Regions from separate parts of the Homo sapiens genome. Here region 2 is linked to region 1. The links are contacts of gene promoters, found by promoter capture Hi-C in human tissues and cell types (Jung and others, 2019). All regions are on one chromosome and are shown on one strand. Each heading gives the region's core, a stretch centred on a gene start or on the middle of the fragment in contact. The rest is flanking DNA. Distances are from core to core; before and after follow the strand shown.

Region 1 (5,682 bases), core at 2,615-5,114:
AGCAGAAACTGCATTAGCCAGGCAAGCACCAGCTGCCCGACCTGCTCAGGAATAGCATGCGCCACATGCCTGACCAAAGGCCTCTCCCCAAACCCTCTTCTCCCTTGGAGACCAGGACCCTGGAGTCACTCTCTGGAGATCTGGCCAATAACCCCCTGGACCCCAGGGCTGTTTGTGGTTCCCTTGGAAGAAGAAGTAAAGGGCCCAAATGCCTGCAGCACATGCCTGGGGGCTAGACAAGGACACTGACCTGGAGAGGCCTTCCTTCACACCCTGCTGTGGGGCTTGTCGCTCTCCATGCCTTCTCTGCTGCTTCCCTGCTTGACTTCAGCCTCACAGCATGTGGGGTATAACTGGCATGAGGGGCAGGAAGGTGAGGAGGAGGTCCCTAGGCAGGTGCGTGGCTGCAGCACAGAGAGACCAGGGCTCACCGGGCCTGGTGCTTGGCATACTCAGGGGCCTGGAGGATGGGTGCATGGAGTTGGTTTGTGGGAAAAATGAGGCCTTGTTGTGGCAGGGGATGGGGAGCTGCCTGGGCGTGGCCTTCGGTCTGGCAGGGATGAACACCTCAGGATGTGCAGTACCTGGCCCTCAGTCTGCCAGAGATGAATACCCCAGGCTGTGCAGCAGCTTCGGTGTCATCCAACACCACACTGCCTAGGCAACACCTGCCCACAGTGGCTTGGACAAGACACCCCTGTCAGCCCCTGGGCTGTAAGTCAGTGGGCCAGCATCTGCCCAAGGCAGGAATCCTGGGAGGGGCTGGCCATTGTCCCTCCTGACTCAGTTGCTCTCAGCTCCCTACTGTGCCATCAGGTGCTCTCAGGACAGATGCTTCCAGGACAGGCTCTTCTACAAAAACGGGGTTGCCTCCTGGGCCTGGAGTCACACCATAGACAAGGAGGCTTTTGGGCACCTAGCCAGGGTCACTCTGCACACATCTCATGAATGAAAATCCTCATCAGAAAATACATCACCGTTCCTCCAGGATGTGACTGTTTCTAGAGAGGGCCTGGTCTCTATCTCCCACTCCCTCCTCCACATGCTACAAGAAATAGAAGCAGCAGCATAAGAAAATGAAGAGGAACAAGAAAATGATGATAAGGAGAAGAAAAGAAAAAGAACAGACAAGGGAATCAGGAGTCCTATTACAGCTTTTGTCCCCTCCCTGATTCATGAAATTTAAAAAAGCCCAAGACTATCCCAACAAAAAACAAGCAAAAAGATACACAAATAGTCACTACCCAAACTTTGTTAATAATGACACAATGCTGCCACTCACGCCTGGCTCAGGACCTACCAGGAGGAGGGCGCCCTCCAGATTCTGCAGGAGAAGCGGAGGAGACTCCTCCTTCCCCAGGCTGCGCCTCCACCGCTGCCCCAGAGGCCCACAGCTTCCTACCCACCCCAGGCCAGGCCCAGCCGGGCGGGTCAGCCCTGGAGCGCTCCTACCCGCCTTCCCAACCTCCAGACTTGCTGCTGCTGCCACCACTAGCACTGATGCCAATACAACCACTGTTCCTGTTGCCCTCAGTCCACTGGTCCACCCTACAAGGCTCCTACCACCTGGATACCACAGCAGGCCTGCCCTTGCCCAGGCAGCAGCCAGCCGCCCTCCTACTGCTCTGGCACTCTGCAGTCTCCATTGCTGCTCTCCTACCGCTCTGGTGCTCTGTAGTCTCCATCGCCACCACCAACCACAGCAAGGTGAGCTGCGGTGCCCCCAGCTCCAGCCTCCAGCATGGAATAAGTGGCTCCTCCTCCTGGCACGGAGCAACTGGGCAGGCAAAGTCAGATAAGCCTAGAACAGGATGCAGAGAGTGGTAGCATTAGAGTCTCACCTTGTCATGCTGGCCACTAGGTGGCAGGGGCCAGTTTTAGCAAAGGCACTCACACCTACCCTCCAAAGCCCAGCCTCCCTTTTTGGCCCAAGTTCACCAGGAACTGGGGCCTGGGGTGGGGACTGGAGACACCACAGTACAGCGTCCGGGCTTCCCACTCGGCACGAATCGCTGGGCCCACCCCTGGCTGCGCTCCTCAGGAAGCAGAAGCAGCAGAAACTCAACCCCAGCCAGCCCTCCCCACCCAAGTGCCGGTACCTCTTCCTGACACCTCCACCCACAGGGCCCTGTCACTCCATGATGTCCGCTACTGTGTGCCCAGGGGTCCCAGACGGTCTCAGCAACACATGGTGAGAGGGCGCGCGCCTGGGAACCACAGCAGGTCTAGGGGCCGGGCCGTGCTCAGGATCCCCGCAGAAATGCTGTGTGCTGGCCAGGAGCAGAAGGAGATGGCCCTCTAGAGACTGGAGTCCCTCTCACCTCCTCTGACCACCGCTGTCACTGACACCTCCGCTGCCCACCACCAGGGGGACGGTGCAGCCCCCGATAGCGCCCCCGACCCTCCCCCACAGCTGGCAGTGTAGCACCAGATGGCAACCCCAACCCGCCCCTGCCTCGGACACTGCAGCACCAATGGCACCCGCAACCCACCCCCTGCCTTGGGCAGCGCAGCCCGGGATAGCGCCCCCAACCCGCTCCCTGCCGTAGGCAGTGGCTGTAGACAGTGTAGCCATGGGTAGCGACCCCAACCAGACCCCTGCCGTGGGCAGTGATGCCCCGATATGGCACCCAAATCGCCCCCTACCCCGGGCAGTGCAACCCTGGATAGTGCCCCTACCTGCTCCCCACCAGGAGAAGCAGCCCAGGATAGCACCCTCAACCCACTTCCTGCCTCCAGGCAGTGCAGCCACAGATAGCACCCAAACTTACTCCCCACCTCGGGCAGTGCGGCCACAGACAGCTCACCTAAACCACCCCCTGCCAAGGGCAGTGTAGCCCCCTATAGTGCACCCAACCTGCCCCTGCTGCAGCCAGTGCAGCCCCAGATAGCACACCCACCCGCTCCCTGCTAGGCAGTACAGACCCCTGATAGCACCCAACCCACCCCTCCACCGCAGGCAGTGTACCCGGCCCTCAATAGCGCCCCCAACCAACGCCCCCACCCCCTCTCCATGGGCAGTCCAGCCCCGGTACCAATCCCAACAACCCCCCGCTACCTGTCTCAGTGTAGCCCCCAGAGAGCGCCCTCAACAACCCCCTCCCCACTGCCAGCAGTGTAGCACCCTATAGTGACCCTAACCCGTCCCCCACCACCAGCATTGCAGCCCCAAATAGTGCCCCCAACCCGCTCCCCACTGTGGGCAGTGCAGCCATGGATAGTGTCCCCAACCAGCTCCCAGATGCAGGCAATGATGCCCTGGATATCACGCCCGCCCCCGTCCCCCACAGGCAGAGTAGCACCGGATAGCAGCACCCACCCTCGCCACCAGCAGTGTTGCACCCACCAGCCCCCCACAACCTGTCCCCAACAAGGGCATCAGGGCATTGCAGCACCTGATAGTTCTACTAACTCACCCCCGCCCCCCGGCCGCGGGCAGTGCATCCCCAGATAGTGCCCCCAAAACTCCCCACTGCCGCAGGAATTACAGCTTCGGATAGCGCCCCAACCCATCTCCAGCCATAGGCTGGATAGCGCCCCCGGATAGCGCCCCCACCCCACTCCCCTCAGCGGGCAGTGACGCCCGAGGTACCACACTCAAGCAGCCCCCCAACACGGGCAGTGACGCCCTGGATAGGGCCCCCAACCCGCCCCCCACGCCACAGGCAGTACGGCCTGGGATAACGAACCTATTCTGCCACCTTTTCACCATTCTGGCTGCGCTGTAGTCACCCTCGCGGCCACCAACCGCAGCAGCGAGGTGAGCCACTGTAGGCTCCAGCCTCCAGCATGCGCGGTAGATGACTCTAGCCTCTGGCATGCGCGGCAAGTGGCTCCTCCTCCTTCTCCTCTAAGCCGGGCACAGAGCAGCTACGCAGGCCGACGCAGATGAGCCTGGAAGGGCAAGCCACCCCTCTTGGCATCCTTTATATACTGAGTTTAATGCAAATGAAGTTTCTCGACTACATAGTCTGATCGGATGAGAGAAACCTCTAGGCCTACTCTGATCGGGCTTTGTTATCTTGTTCTGATTGGTTATCCTAAGACTTGCTGTCATCCAGTCAGAACGTGAAAATAAAGCACAATCAGAGTAGACCTAGAGGTTTTTCTCTCATCCAATCTGAACATGTAGTCCAGAAACCTTACTTGCATAACCTCGGTCTGTGGGGGGAGGGGTTCTTGCCATTCCAGGCACTTCTGCGTCTGCCAGCCCATCTGCTCCATGCCCAGGTTAGAGGAGGAGTCACCTGTCCCACGCTGGAGGCTTGAAAGCCTGCAGCAGCATGGCTCGGCTCGCTGCCGTTGGTGGCGGTGAGGGAGACTAGACCGCAGCCAGAATGTAGAAAGGTGGCGGGGTGGATGAGCTATCCAGGGCTCACTGCCTGCGGCAGGGGGCGGGGAGGGGGACAGGTTGGATGCACGATCTGGAGCTGCACTGCCCGAGGTGGGAGCGGGGGCGGATTGAGGGCGCCATCGTGGGCTACAACCCGGTGGTGGGAGGCGTGTTAGGGGCAGTATTGGGTGCTGCACTGCCTACAGCACGGGAAGGTTGGGTGCTTTACCGGACGTCATTTCCCGCAGCCGCGGGGTGGCTTGCTGGGGGCGCTATCCGTGGCTGCACTGGTCGCGCTGGGGTACGGGTTGGGGGCGCTATCTGGGACATCAGTGCGCATGGCAGGGAACTTGTTGGCTGTGATATCCGAGGCGTCACTGCCCTTGGCTGGGGGCTGGTTGGGGGCTCTATCTATGGGCTACACTGCCTACAGCCAGGAGCGTGTTGGGGCGTTATCGGGGCGGACTGCCAGTGGCGGGGGTGGGGGTGCGGGTTGGGTGCTATCGGGGGGCTTCACTGCCTGGCAGGGAGTGGATTGGGTGCGCTATTTGGGGTTGGACTGCCGGCGGTGGTTGACTCGGTGGGAGGAGAGGGGCAGAGGGAATGGGTTGGATGCACTATCGGGAGCTACACTGCCCGAGGCGAGGGGGAGATGGGGGCGCCATCGTTGGCTACACCGCATGTAGTGGGGGGCGTGTAAGGAGCAGTAGTGCGTGTTGCATTGCTCATGGCGGGGGAGGGTTGGGTGCGTTATCCCGGGCGTCATTTCCCACAGCGGCGGGGGTCAGTGGAGGGGCTTGTTGAGGGCGCTATCCATGGCTGCACTGGTCGCTGAGGGGCAAGGATTGGGGGCGCTACCTGGGACATCAGTGCCATGGTGGGGAACTTGTTGGGTGTGTTATCCGAGGCATCACTCCCCATGGCTGGGGGCTGGTTGGGGGCGCTACCCATGGGCTGCACTGCCCACAGCCAGGAGCGTGTATGGGACATTATCGGGGGCGGACTGCCAGTGGCTGGGTGGGGAGGCGGGTTGGATGCTATGTGGGGTTGCACTGCCCAGCAGGGAGTGAGTTCGGTGCGCTATCTGGGGTTGCACTGCCGGCGGTGGGTGGCAGATTGGGTGCCCTATCGCTACACTGCCGCGGCGAGTACCGGGTTGGCGGCGCTATCCTGGGCTACACCGCCGGTGGCGGGAGGCGTTTTAGGGGCGCTATCTGGTGCTGCACTGCCCGCGCAGGAGTTGGGTTGGGTGACCTACTCCAGGCGTCACTGCCCGAGGCTGGGGGCTGATTTGGGGCGCTATCCCGGGAGTCATTTCCTGTGGCGAGGGGCTGGTTGAGGGTGGTATC
Region 2 (5,526 bases), core at 1,029-3,528, 320 kb before region 1:
ACTGCCTTTGCAGTGTTAGGCAAGTCATATTACTTCTCGGGGCCTCAGTTTCCTCAGTGTAAAGGAGGAAATAACAGCTTCCATGTTTAAGGATGGGGTGCTTGTCCATGAGATAAATGCAGGTGAAGCAATTAGCAAGGCATCAGACACAGAGATAGTGCGTAGAAGGTGTCAGTTCTTACTACTAATAATTTACTACGAATAACTATGACATAATGCTTACTATTAATAACGTGTGTCTTATACATATTGCTTTTCATGTTTATTATTAACAATCCTTGTAACTAATGCAGTGCCCCGTTACCCAGCAAGAATTCTATAGTAATAAGTGTTCCGAAACTACATATTCCTCACTCTACCAGGCTCCTGGCTGTGCCTCTGCCCCACACCCTCCTTTCCCCTCTGCCCTGGGACCTGCTTTTTAAAAGCACATTTGAACAGAGCCGTTTTAAAACAGAGAGCTACTGTATTCTGATTTCCTCTCTGGCCCAGAGTAAAACATGCTTGATAAAGAGATATTATTTTAAGGGAAATGAGGCTAAACACACTTTTAGTGAGTTGAAAAACAATCAATTTAAAACCAATTAAGGTAATTAAAGAAAATGCCCAGTGAATTAACGCTCAGATTAAAAATAACAAGGCTAATGAAAAACAACGCTTTCATTGAGTTCCCCAATTAACAAATCACATTATTATTTTGAACTTGCTGTTCATTTCAACTCAGTAAAAGTGAAATTTTCTTTTAATAAGCTTCATGTCTGTGCTTAGGCAAATACTTTCTATATATGTTAATATTTTGTGTATGTGCTCATATGAAAAATACTAAATTGTTTGCTTTGCCAAGAAGCCGAAAGAAATAACTAGGGCAGTGGTAATGGTTAGCACTCTGGTCTCTGAATCCAGTAACTAGGGTGTCTCTCTTGATAAATCCCAGGTATATGATAGGGACTCAACAAAGAGTTACTGAATTAATGAATGGGTATTCACATTTTCTAAGATATCAACCTGGGAAGGGAGGCGAATCAGGGGAAACTGAAGATAAAAGTAGAAAACAAATGTTTTATTTGAACTGCGGTGGGTTTAGAAAACCCAAAAGTAACCAACATTTAAAAATCAGGAGGTGAGCTGGGCGCGGTGACTCACACCTGTAATCCCAGCACTTTGGGAGGCTGAGGTGGGCGAATCACAAGGTCAGGAGTTCGAGACCAGCCTGGCCAATATGGGGAAACCCTGTCTCTACTAAAAATACAAAAAATTAGCTGGGCGTGGTGGCGGACGCCTGTAATCCCAGCTATTTGAGAGGCTGAGGCAGGAGAATCTCTTAACCCAGGAGACAGAGGAGGTTGCAGTGAGCCGAGATCGCGCCACTGCACTCTAGCCCGGATAATAGTGCAAGACTCCGTCTCAAAAAAAAAAAAAAAAAAAATCAAGAGGTGTTGCTTAAACATCTAGATTTCCAGCATCTCTTGATAGCACAGAAGCTCTAGAAACAATGGGCCTGTGTTTCTATACAGCAACTGTCCCTGGCGTTACTAACAGCGGCTTCCTTGATCAGAGCAAGGGCTCCTAGGGGCTCCTGCGTTTGCCTCCAGCCCTACTCCTCACTTCCATAGTGACAGAGAGGGGCAATTGCTATGTTCTTTATGCTTGCACCTCTTCAGAGAAATAGTTCTCTGGACTGTTTTTATCTCAAGTGGGCAAATTTTTGAAAGCCTCATTACTTTTCTTATATTTGCCTGCTTTATTTATTTACATACCTGGTTGGCCCTAGAGGTGTTTGAGATAAATGTGACCTCCCATCTACTCGCCTATACAATCATGAAAGAGGTAATGAATCAAAGCCATGTAATATAATCAGATGCTAAACTGATGCTGCAATTTAATCCAATTTAGTGTTCCACAAGCTCACAAAAATGTTCAGATCGGGAGGGATGTTTGATGTTCAGTCCAATGACCTTATTTTACAAATGAGGGCCCAGAAGCCCAGAGAAGGGGAGTGACTTACCCACGGTCACACAGCGAGTTAATGGCAAGGCTTGAGTCAGGACCTGAGGCTCCTGGTGCCAGTGTGGAGTCAGGGCCACCAGACTCCACAGGTCATGGAGGTTATACAGGTGGCATGTCCTCTGAAAATGTGCTCAGCTGACGTGACATCTGGTAAGGGAGGCTGGCTGAAATCTAGTCCTTGCCCCTTTGGCATCTGGCTCAGAGCTGCTTCAGCTGAAGGAAGCCGCCTTTTCTTAATTAGCAATAAAGATGTTATGAGGACTCAGGCGAGCCTGCGTGGTGTAGTTTTCATAAAGGAAAAAGTAATAAAACAGGGTTTTTGAGTCAAAGAGATCTAGGTTTGAATCTCGGCGTGTCCCCTTATTCGTAGTGACATCTTAAGCAAGTCACAATATATCTGGGTCTCAGTTTCTCTGTAAAAATGGGGCCAAGCACAGTGGCTCACACCTGTAATCCCAGCACTTTGGGAGGCTAAGGTGGGAGAATTGCTTGAGGCCAGGAGTTCAAGACCAGCCTGGGCAACACAGCGACACCCCATCTCTACAAAAAAAAAAAGGCAGAAAGAAAAAGTGGTGTTGGGCCTGTAGTCCCAGCTACTCTAGAGACTGAGGCAGGAGGGTGGCTTCAGCCCAGGGGTTCACTGCTGCGGTGTGACCATGCCACTGCACTCTACCCTGGGTGACAGAGACCCCATCTCTTTAATTAAAAATTATATATATACATACATACCTATATACACGCACACACACACTATTAAAATTATGTTCACCTATTTCTTTTTACTTTTTAAAATGTGCCTACTAGAAAATGTGTAATTATACATGTGGCTCTCTCTAGAGTTCCAGGGACAGCACTCCCATGGCTGGGGGTAGGGGATGAAAATAATGCCTAACCCACAGAGCTGTTGTGCCCAGTCCAAAGCTGGTGACATAATAGGTGCTCAGTAGAAGCCCCATTGTTACAGAGTCACAGAGATGGGTTCCAGCACCTTTTAGTTTTCAGTCTCCTAACGTGCCTACGGTGCTCTCAAAAAAACGTGGCAAGAATAACCCCACTCTCCCAGCAGCAGCATGTCGTAGGGAGAAGAGACCTACGGGCAGCCAGTCGGCTTTGGCAAAATGCAATTCACCATCAACAGCCCTGACACCCAGAATTTGAGGGTTAGGAGAGTGCACCTTGATTGTTGGGGGCCTTGGAATTCTACTCAAAGTCATTTCTGGGTGGCTACAACATCCCCAAGCTTAGATGCCTCTTGGCTTGCTTGTGGAAGCCTGTGTGCCCTGTACGGTGAGAGGGAGAAACCAAGATTCTCTTTGAGCTTTCTGTGGCTCCTCTTCCAACTGGGAAACCTTAATAAGACTCAGTCTCCACCTCTATGTGGTGAGAAGAATGGTATCTTCCCTACTGACCTCTCTAGGTCAAGTGATATGTTGCTTTTGAAAGTTCTTGGAAAAGTTTAGAGAGCAACTCAAAAAGTAAGAGTTAATTCTTGTCGTTGTTTCCAAAGAAATACATCTTCAGTGTGGAAAATACCCGTGAGAAAAAAAAAAAGAGAATTAAAATCCTTCTTAATCTCACCACTTTTGTAATGATTATTTAGTGTCTCATTACTCAACGTAGGATAAGCTGGGAACCCGTTAGAAATGCAGAATCGCAGATCCTGCCTATATTAGTTTTCTCAGGCTGCCTTGATAACAAAATGCCATAGACTGGGGGGGCCTTAAACAACAGATGTTTTTTTCACAGTTCTGGAGGCTGCAGGTACAAGATCAAGGTGCTAGCAGGGTTGGTTTCTGGTACAGCTTCTCTCCTTGGCCTGCAGATGGCAGCCTTCTTTGTGTATCCTCGTGTGTCCTTTCTTCTGTACCTGGGTACATGACACTCCTGATATTTCTTTCTCCTCTTATAAGGACACCAGGCCTATCAGATTAGGGCCCCACCGTATCACCTCATTTAACTTTAATTACCTCTTTAAAGATCCTATCTCCAAATAGAATTGCATTGAGGGTTAGGGTTAAGGTTTCAACATATGAATTGGGACAGGGTGAACACAATTCAGTCCGTAACGCAGCCCGAGACTCACTCTATCAGAATCTTTATTTTGACCAGATCCCCAGTGATTCATATGCACATTAAAGTCTGAGGCACACTGGTTTTAGTGTACAGTCTTCCAGTCTTGCTTTTTTATATATGTTTTTACATATGTGCCAAAATAAAACCATAAGTACTGTATTCTAAGCTATTTTGTTCAGCAGTATAATATTTAGCATATGTTATCAACAGTATCCTGTGTCATTTAGTATTACTCAGCCACATCCTATGTGATGACCACAGCATATTCCATTATACAGATGTATCTTAATGTTCCTAATTACTTCCTTATGGTTAGGTATTTATACGGTTTTCAGTTTTTCACCATTATAAGAAACACTGTAATGAACATCCTTGAAGCAACATTATTTGTGTACAGCCATATCTATCCTAAGAAAAAAAATTGAACTGAACCTTTTTTTTTCTGGCCCCTTAGGAGGCCCTCGCCAAGCTCAGTCTCCTCAGCCCCAGAGATCTGGAAGCCCCTCCCAACAGAGGCTCTCCCCACAAGGCCAGCAGCCCCTGAGCCCCCAGTCCGGATCTCCACAGCAGCAAAGGTCACCAGGCTCTCCGCAGCTATCCCGGGCATCCAGTGGCAGCTCCCCAAACCAGGCCTCCAAGCCAGGTGCCACCCTCGCCTCACAGCCCCGGCCCCCTGTGCAGGGCCGTAGTACCTCCCAGCAGGGTGAAGAGTCCAAGAAGCCAGCACCACCCCATCCGCATCTCAAGTAAGTGCTTTGGGAATTGGAAAAGGTATAGGATAGAGCTGGGGTGTAGGCAGAGCTTGGCTGATTCAGGGTTAGGGACTTGGAGACAAAGGAAGACCCAACGAGGCCTTGCCTAGACTTCAAATAGGTAAAAACAGGACTAGAGGACAGAATTTGCTGGGGAGGCCCAACAAGGTGAGAGTATAGATTAGACACCACCGTGACCCTCCGTGTATACACATACCAGCCATTTACCAGCTATTGTTTGCTGCATAACAAACAACCCCAAAACTTAGTGGCTGAAGAAAACAATCATTCTCTTTGTTCATAATTTTTTGGTTCAGCTGTTTGTTCTGAGTTTAGCTCAGCTGGGAGGTTCTTCTGCTGGTGTCTCCTATAGAGTTACAGAATAAAACATAGGATACCCAGTTAGATTCACATTTCAGATAAAAAACAGATAATTGTGAGTATAATTATGCCCCAAACATTGCATGGAATATACTTACACTAAAAAAAAAGTCTTAGCTTTTTATCTGAAATGCACATTTATCTACACATTTTTATTCGCTAAATCTGGCAACTCTACTTTCCTGGGATCACTCATACGACTGCAGTCATCTGGCAGCTTCACTGAGGCTGGATGGTCCAAGAAGGCCTCACACACACATCTGGTTGTTGGTGCTAGCTGTCAGCTGGGCCTCTTTCTCTCCATGGGGTCTCA

What was found. Contacts are between HindIII fragments. The study calls those that stand out against the background at their distance.
Region 2: a fragment that was not itself captured here is called in contact with the fragment with the promoter of RFPL2 in region 1 in 2 of the 25 tissues and cell types used here (dorsolateral prefrontal cortex and lymphoblastoid cells).

What each region holds. Positions count from the first base shown.
Region 1 is chr22:32,203,255-32,208,936 of GRCh38, reverse strand. It overlaps RFPL2 (ret finger protein like 2), which reads left to right and starts at 3,864. Exons shown (of 5, transcript NM_001394555.1): 1 at 3,864-4,230. It overlaps SLC5A4-AS1 (SLC5A4 antisense RNA 1), which reads right to left and starts at 3,822. Exons shown (of 4, transcript NR_149072.1): 1 at 3,690-3,822; 2 at 1,661-1,801. RefSeq lists an enhancer at 1,690-2,420. The HindIII fragment of the contact is 14,140 bases long and covers 1-5,682 here.
Region 2 is chr22:32,517,343-32,522,868 of GRCh38, reverse strand. It overlaps SYN3 (synapsin III), which reads left to right. Exons shown (of 14, transcript NM_003490.4): 13 at 4,535-4,826. Among named protein-coding and RNA genes, the nearest start is that of FBXO7, 45 kb to the right of the region's middle. The HindIII fragment of the contact is 4,695 bases long and covers 1-4,625 here.